Regions from separate parts of the Homo sapiens genome. Here regions 1 and 2 are each linked to region 3. Evidence: promoter capture Hi-C in 16 types of primary human blood cells and fetal thymus (Javierre and others, 2016). All regions are on one chromosome and are shown on one strand. Each heading gives the region's core, a stretch centred on a gene start or on the middle of the fragment in contact. The rest is flanking DNA. Distances are from core to core; before and after follow the strand shown.

What was found. The method cuts DNA at HindIII sites, captures the fragments that hold promoters and counts their contacts. A CHiCAGO score of 5 or more calls a contact.
Region 1: a contact is called between a fragment that was not itself captured here and the fragment with the promoter of NME5 in region 3, in 1 of 17 cell types (M2 macrophages). The highest score is 5.7, in M2 macrophages.
Region 2: a fragment that was not itself captured here is called in contact with the fragment with the promoter of NME5 in region 3 in 1 of 17 cell types (total B cells); the score reaches 5.8 in total B cells.

Annotation. Positions count from the first base shown.
Region 1 is chr5:137,872,696-137,875,682 of GRCh38, forward strand. All of the region lies in intron 2 of MYOT (myotilin), which reads left to right. The region is part of intron 2 of PKD2L2-DT (PKD2L2 divergent transcript); the gene reads right to left. Among named protein-coding and RNA genes, the nearest start is that of MYOT, 6.3 kb to the left of the region's middle. The HindIII fragment of the contact is 3,098 bases long and covers 144-2,987 here.
Region 2 is chr5:137,836,407-137,839,187 of GRCh38, forward strand. No RefSeq gene overlaps it. Among named protein-coding and RNA genes, the nearest start is that of MYOT, 30 kb to the right of the region's middle. The HindIII fragment of the contact is 200 bases long and covers 1,261-1,460 here.
Region 3 is chr5:138,138,100-138,140,840 of GRCh38, forward strand. It overlaps NME5 (NME/NM23 family member 5), which reads right to left and starts at 1,329. Exons shown (of 6, transcript NM_003551.3): 1 at 1,272-1,329; 2 at 553-686. The coding sequence starts at 681. It overlaps BRD8 (bromodomain containing 8), which reads right to left. Exons shown (of 27, transcript NM_139199.2): 26 at 2,606-2,741; 27 at 1,671-2,067. The coding sequence ends at 1,975. The HindIII fragment of the contact is 15,003 bases long and covers 1-2,741 here.

The DNA of each region.
Region 1 (2,987 bases), core at 443-2,942, 270 kb before region 3:
AATAATCCCTTGGATTCTGACCTAGAGAAATTTGAAAGCTTTATTTAGATTTTCATCAATAGGAAGCTCTTAGGCAAACATTTTACCCAGTTGATCAAACCACAGACTGAAAACTGAGGGGAACTCAATTGTTCCTTCCAAAAAGCTTGCTATGTGAAATTCAGCAAGCACTTTACCTACCCAGTGCTTCAATTTTCTGGTCTGTAGCAATATTAAAGAGTTAGGTAATTAATGATAGAGAAAGGACCTATAAAGCAGTGTGCAAACGTACTATTAGTTTGTAAATGGGAGCATTTATCAAGTCGTAACACTTAATCCACCTAAACTGGGAATAATGAGAGTATTCAGTGAACAAAGTGACTGAGGTTACATATACATCAGTGATTCTCAGGATTGGTTTTGATAATCCTTCAGGACTTCTCAGATATATTCAGAATTTCCCAGATATGACAAGTCTAAAAACAATTATTTAATGCTAATTCACATTAACAAATGTGTGACTTATAAAGATGATAAGCTAGCATTTTTAAAAAAAAAAAAAACAGTAGGCTAGGCCAGGTGTGGCTCACACCTGTAATCCCAGCACTTTGGGAGGCCAAGGTGGATGGATCACCCAAGGTCAGGAGTTTGAGACCAGCCTGGCCAACATGGTGAAACCCTGTCTCTACTAAAAAAAAAATACAAAAAAATTAGCAGGGTGTTGTGGCAGGCACCTATAATCCCAGCTACCTGGGAGGCTGAGGCATGAGAATCGCTTAAACCCGGGAGACATAGAGAGAGGCAGAGGTTGCAGTGAGCCAAGTCCATGCCATTGCACTCCAGCCTGGACAACAAGAATGAAACTCCGTCTCAAAAAAAAAAAAGTGGTCTATTATAATTCTATACGATTGAAAAAATATGAGATCTATAAGGCCAAAGAGATTTTGACACTTTGATCTAGGAATTCAATCTTTAAAAAAAAAATCGCTATTTTAAAAAACATTTTGTTTGGCTATTAACTGAACAAATCAGACTTTAAAAATTTATATAGACAACCATAAAGATCTTAAGACCTGAAATGTCAGGAGAGGAAATGTGTATCATTAGCTTTCAATAGAGTGTCCTGAATACTATGAAAATCACTCATTCACTCAACTGATAGTATCTCCTATACCCATGCTCTGTGTTCGTGGATATAAATGATATAATGATAACAAATAAGACATATTTTTTCTCCAGAATGTTTACAATCTAATGATTACTAACCAAGTTCCCAAAGCCAGTAAAAATTAAAACTCTGGCCCTACTTGGAGGAAATACATTTATACTTAGCTCACAAGTCCTTTTAATGATCCTTGAGAATATTTGGAAAGGATCATTTCAGAGAAGAGACCAAGATTGTCTCATCTGGATAGCCAGAGAACATTTATTATAATAATGGTAAAATACTCATTGAGGGCAGTGGCTAGTTTCCTCACATTAAATAGATTAATAAAGATTAGTCCCTGCAGGCCGGGTGCGGTGGCTCAAGCCTGTAATCCCAGAACTTTGGGAGGCCCAGGCAGGCAGATTACCAGAGGTCAGCAGTTTGAGACCAGCCTGGCCAACATGGCAAAACCCCGTCTCTACTAAAAATTCAAAAATTAGCTGAGCATGGTGGCGGGTGCCTGTAATCCCAGCTACTTGGGAGGCTGAGACAGGAGAATCACCTGAACCCGGGAGGCAGAGGTTGCAGTGAGCCGAGATCGCGCCACTGCACTCCAGCCTGGGCAACAGAGCGGGACTCCATCTCAAAAAAATAAATAAAAATTAAAAATAAAGATTAGCCCCTGCAGGGCTCTGAATGGATAAACTAGGTAAAAACTGAATAAAGCACTGTGATACATTTAAGCTACCTAACAGATCTAAAAATACAGGACTCTCTAAATACCACCCTATCCTCTATCAGAATCAACAAGGGAAATACGGGAGGGGCAAGGACATCATAGAAAAAATTTAGGATCAAAATTTGAAATAAAGACTTTATTTGCTTTTTTCCAGTTTACATTTCTTTCTCCTTCCTCAAATCATCCCATTTTTTCTCTAAAAATCACTTCAGTAGTATTGAAGAAACTGTCATTACTTTAGAAGTTATTTGCTGTTATATAGTGCCATACTTGGATTTTCTAGAATATGAAATTAATAGGAATTGGAAATTACAGGAAAGTCAATGACTGTGTAGACTCCATTCAAAGCAAAAGATTATTCACTAAAAGCCAGTGGTGTGCTGGTAAATGTCTAACAATCACTGGACAAAAGAGCCATTATTTGTGATATTTACCGATTTCCCTGGTGTAAATATTTCCACCACAACCAATTTCAAACTATAACATGAAATCATAGGAAGCTGGGAAAAGATGCTAAAAATCAGCCCATATGAACCAGCTCCAGAATACCACCACTTAATATCTACCCATAAATCAAACAAGAAATTCGGTCATCGTAGCTATAACAAAGAACAAAATTACGTCCTTTGCAGCAACACGGATGCAGCTTGAGGCCACTATCCTAAGCAAACTAACACAGAAACAGAAAATAAAATAGAGCATGTTCTCATTTATAAGTGGGAGCTAAACATTGGGTACATATGAACACAAAGATGAAAACAATAAACACTGGAGATCCCGAAAGCAGGGAAAGAGGTGGAAAAGGGTTCAAAAACTAACTATCAGGTACTATGTTCACCTCTTGGGTGACAGAATCATTAGAAGGCCAAACCCCAGCATCATACAATATACCCATGTAACAAACATGCACATGTACTCCCAGAATCTAAAAAAAAATTTTATTAAAGAAATTACTCATAAGATTGGAAGAGCTCTCAAGCTGCCACTAACTAGACTTACTCTCACATTCCTTAGGGAATATCTTCAAGGAAGGACATCCTCCTTATGTCTAATCTAAATTCTTCCTCCTGACACTTAATTTCCATTTGCCAAAAGGAAAAAAAAAAGATAGTAACCATTCTT
Region 2 (2,781 bases), core at 111-2,610, 300 kb before region 3:
GGACTATGAAATCACAGAGCTCCCAGGGATCTTAGCAACAACTGCTGCCAGAGTCTCAATCTGTTGGCTTCTCTGAGTCTAGCAGTTAATAAGAGGATAAGAACATCTGCCTTCCTTACAGGCTTGTTGTGATCACAAGATAAATGTGTGAAAGCATTTTGTGAGCATCAAGGACTTAATCAGTGTGAGACAGTATTATTCCAGTTAAATGCAACTTGCTCTAAAACTAAAAGAAAGTAGGTTCAGATATAAAGAAGGTAGGGATTTGCATGGATTTCCTCCCATTTTAGTTCACATGAGATCCATAGGTTAATTATAACTGGCTAAGGCTTTCTGCTCAGGACATTTGAAGTAATAACAGAAGAGGAATTCAGTGATAAGAATCCTTAACTCCACATCAGGGAACCTGGATCACGGTGCAATCTTCAGGTCCTAGAGAACTGATTTCCTGAGATGCCTTCCCACCTTTCCAACTCTGTTAAAATCTGACCCCTTGGGGGAAACACTGAAACCCAACTGACAGAAGAGAACTAGCAAAAATATATTTGAAGCTAGAAGAAATCAAATTATTTCCCCTGAGATTGACTCTGAGTTTGGTTTTGAGTTCTCACCTTGATGTACTTAGCTATCTCCTAGAGGAGTTGGATGGACTAACTAACTTAAACCTGGCAAGAAGCAGCAATAGGTATATCAGGACAAGGGCTAAGGACTTTTACTGACACTAGTTTATGGCCAAATCTATTTCTCATTCTGGCTCCTATTTATGCAGTGCATTAGGAGAACAGATGATGTCAACACCACCAGGCAGACAAGTTATCTCAATGCTCAGTTCCTGGCAGAAGAATTTGTGCCCTGATTTATTTTTAGTGCTTTTCTACCTTAGTAATCCAGTCAGCTGAAGAAGAGCCAGCAATCTATTCTTGGAGCACACCCATTTATTTATTCCTTAGCAATTAGCAATACATTTAGTCACCTAGGTAAGAATCTACTAGGAGTTTGGGGTCTCATCATTTGCAAACTTACAAAGACCACACAGGATCATTACCCCAATCCAAGTGTAAGTGTGGGCCTCACTATTTCATTAGTAGAAACCTTTTATTCAGGGAGAAAAACAAAGAAAGAGAGGCCGCTAACAAAATCAGGTATGCATAGCCTATCATTTTATCAGCAGGGTGGAGGTTGGGGTGAAAAGTAGGAACTCTACTTCATCTTTTATAAAATGTTAGACCTTAAGTTAAGGCACACATTTAGCTTATCATAAGCTTCAAACTGGACTGTTGCTAGGAGTTCACAACAAACAGTTCCTTTTTACCAAGATGCAGAAAGTGAAATATCAAAAGACTAATCAGCCATTTCCACATCTTTACATTTGGATTTAACCCCAAATATTTAATTTTATTTCAATCTCATACAGCTTGTGAGGACAGACTTATTCAACATCAGCTGTCCTCATATTTAAAAGCTTCACCACAAAGATAAAATTAGAATCAAGTGAGGATCATATTCCTCAGCAAGAATTCTGCTCTATGTCCCACTGATGCCCCAAGCCACAACTGACAAATCAAATACCAGCATTATTGTTGTTTTTCTTAGACACTTCCTAAGCAGCCATAGTATGATAGAAACTGTATAGATAACAAAAAGAGGCAGGATCACTAAACTCATAGAATTATACCCATGGGTATAAATTTATTTCCAAGGTTATTTATCAGCAAAGTGGGAGGAAAGTATGTACTGTCTGGACGGAGCTGGGAGTGACTGGGAAGTCAACTATCACAAAACCCCTTTTTATTGTTGGTACTTTCCACTTCAGGAATTTTCCAAACTTGGATGAGGTTCAAATTAGACTAAAGACTGGGTAAAGTACAACTGTTAACACCAAATGTCATCATCTTGGTATTAGACATTGGTGTGACAATGTATTATATTTTAAAAAATGAAAAAGAATCTCAAGATTTTAAACTATTAGTTGTTGAACAATCACCTTTAATGGAGTCTAATTGTAAAAATGTAGCTGTAAAAATACATCGTTAATGTTCTGTGTTCAATTTGGAGGCATTTTACCAGAGGGGAAAATAATTCAGTTCTCAACAGGCATTTTACAAGAAGGAAAAGCAGAAGCAACCAATAAACACATAAAAGATGCACAGCCTCACTTATGACGAAAAATAAAGCAAGTTTACAAAACAATGGGATATATTATAAGAAGCATTGAGGAAGTTATTCTCAAATAACTACTGAGAATGTACCATTTAATAAAAGGGCAATTTAGCTGTAACTATTAAAATATAAAATGAATATTATTTTATCCCCTGTAATTCCACTATAGTATGATCCCATTTGTGAAAAAAATAAAATTATACACAGAGCTGAATATGCAGATAAATTTTCTGTATAGATATACAAGAAACTGTTAATAGTAGAAATTGGGGATTTGGAAAGGTCAGTTGTACCTTTCACTTTGTACCTTCGGTACTCTGAATTTTTAGAATTTTTGTCCTTAAGCATTTACTACTTTTATTTTTAAAAATATTTTTGCAGTAATAGGTTTATTTCAATTTTCAGGAAAATTCATTTGTGTGGATCACCCAAGTCCCTAAAAATGCCTTATGCATCAAAAGAATTAAATTATACTCAGTAGTTTTAGCACTGACTGTATTTTGCTATATCCTAAGTTTCTGACATTGGTAATTCCTGTATGTTCTGTAGAATAAGCCAGAACTCCATTCACTTACTAGGACAGATAACAAAGAAGGAACTTTTATTTTGAAAGTGGATTTG
Region 3 (2,741 bases), core at 79-2,578:
CCCCTAGAATGACAATGTTTACTAATTGCAGAACATAAGGCTTAAAACATTAAATGTTATGCCATAACTGAAAAAAGTACCAATAGCCTAAAATTCCATCAATAGAAGATCAAGTAAATAAATTGTAGTTCTAATACACAGGGAAATATTACACAGAAATTAGGAAGAGTGAGATCAATTCAGATGCAATGATCTGGAATCCTATCTGAGGGACTCTGTAAAGGGGTCAAGGGAAAGGGACTGTTCTGTTTTATGGGGGGAAAATGTTTATAAATGCATAGAAAACTCCTGGAAGAACAGAAAGTGTTAAGTGGTTGCCTCTCTCTGGAGCCTGGGACTTGGGGTAAAAGAGGACAGGTGAAGGAAAAGTCCATTTTATTTCTCATTTTACATCCTTTTAAAAACTATCACATATAACTTTTATACTTAGAAGAATAAACTTAAATTTAATGCTGAACACTAAGGGTTTAAATGGGTAGGCACATTTACATAAGCATTTTTTTTTTAAGGGCAGAGAGGAAAAAAGCATGAATCATCATACCCAGAAGTTACCTGAACAATGGTGAATCCGGATCTAAGAATAATATCTTGTATCTCCTCCTCTTTGTCAACAATATCTGGTTTGATAATGGCCAGAGTTTTTTCTACATATATCTGAGGTGGAGGCATTGATATCTCCATTATGGCTTTTCAGGGCACAAATTAAGAGTTTCTTAACAGGTATCAACTGCAATGACATGCATTTCCCCCCACCCCCATCGCAAATTCAATGTAATTATGATTAAGAATAGCAATAGTAGGTACTTGATTTTATTAACTGATGAAGGTAGAAACTGCCATGTTTTTCTATATACAGGGTCTCAATAATAGGATTCCTACTATGTCCAAATCGAGCCCCGGCTTTTCGTATACGATGTCACCAAGGCAGGAAGGACTATGGGCTCACATAACCAGAGGCCAAGGGGCGACCCGAAGGCCTGGAACCAGCAACAGCCCCAGGCAGCAGAGGGCGGTGGGGCGGGTGGTGGGGGCTCGAGGGGGCGGTAGAGCGGGTGGTGGGGGCTCGAGGGGACGGTGGCTGGTGGGCAACCACACACCATTACAGCGGCGGGTGAGCGGCCTCGGCCAGCTGCCTCTGTGAAGCGACCCTGTCCCGCAGGGACCTCTCTGTGCATAGGGTCAGGCTAATTGAAAAGCAGGGCCTCTAGGTCCGCGGGGACTTTCCGGGTTGCACCTGCAAATTCTGAATTTGACCCTCTCTAAGTACTCACCTCAGCGGCCGTCCTCATATGGTACAACTTGTTGCTAGGAGACCTGAAGCCCCAGCGTGGGGACGGTGGCTGCAGAGAGCCAATCCCAGCAAGGAACCTTGCAGCTTCTGGCCAGTTCGTTTTAACCAAAGGGAGCCAGCCAGTCACTTTTATTCTCCTTGTGAATCTTAGAGCACTAGATGTTTTCTGACATTTTACTCATAATTTATCTTATTTCATCCTTCTTCCCGTTTGAAGGATGCTTCAATTATCCCTACTCTATAAATGATAAGAACCCCTCCCCCAACCATTCCTTTCCAGGCGGTATATGTAAATGACCCGTGTCAGATACCTTCGTTTCACCAGATGATGCTGTGCCCTCTATGCCCAGCTTATCTAGTCATTAAAAAGCAATATTCCTATTGTGTAAATACATTTATTTATAGAGTAAAAGGCTTAGAAAAGATCTAATGGAATTGTCTTTAAATCAAGCCGATGGAACAAAGATGTGGGCAACATTTATGGCATAAATCCAAACCTCAGCTTCCCCTTTTTTTCTTTATATTATGTCCACATGCATCTTTGACTCGTTGGTTGTGAGTTAAGGTATTATTCTTGTTGGAAAAGAAAATGAGGACATGGCAAAGAAGTACCAGGATCCTCTCTAGGTCAGAGTTCCGGGAGAGATTCAAACTCTAGAAAAAGTCAGGATAGCAGCTCCAGGTTAGAAAACAGGTTTTCCATCATCCACTGGGTTAGCTGGTTCTCCTTCCAGACTACTTGAGCCTTTTCTTTTGTCTAACCAGATATTCAGTACCTAAAGGGTTAAGGAACACATAGCAAGCTATTATGAACCTTAAACACTAAAGTATTGCAAGTTTATTTTTTTGGCAAATAGACTCAACTATACTTTTTTCTTTAAAGTATGATGCTACCCAGAAAAGAAACCCACAAATGTCTTCTAGCTACTATATCTTATCCCCTAAAGATGGGAAAGTGTGAACGTACATTAATAACAACAGATGAAGCAACCAAAAAATACACAGTGACTCCAGCCTCTTTGGAGTTTAGCCCTTGACTTGAGGCTCTGGAAGCGGGAATTCCCATTACTTGTCTATCCTCAGCTCTCTTGAGAGCTCTTCACTGCTGCCTGCATTCCTAGACTACTTCACTATCAGAGCTGGACTTACTGAGGCTCAGGGTTTTCCAAACCAGCAGGCACATTATCAATCCTTCAGGGCCTTAATCACCTTTAAAAATAAACTCTGAGAACACAGTCACCTCGAAATCACCTTTATTCTCATAGGCGTTCTGAAATCAAGATTCCAGAGGCTACAGGTATCTGCATACAGTACCTGAATCTGCTCCAGGACTTCTTGCCGCATCTCCACAGCCATATGGTATACATGATGATCAGAGTCATTGTACATTACAGCATTTTGGAACATCAGCATCAGGTCTCGCAGGAATTGGGCCATGGTGCGAATCCGA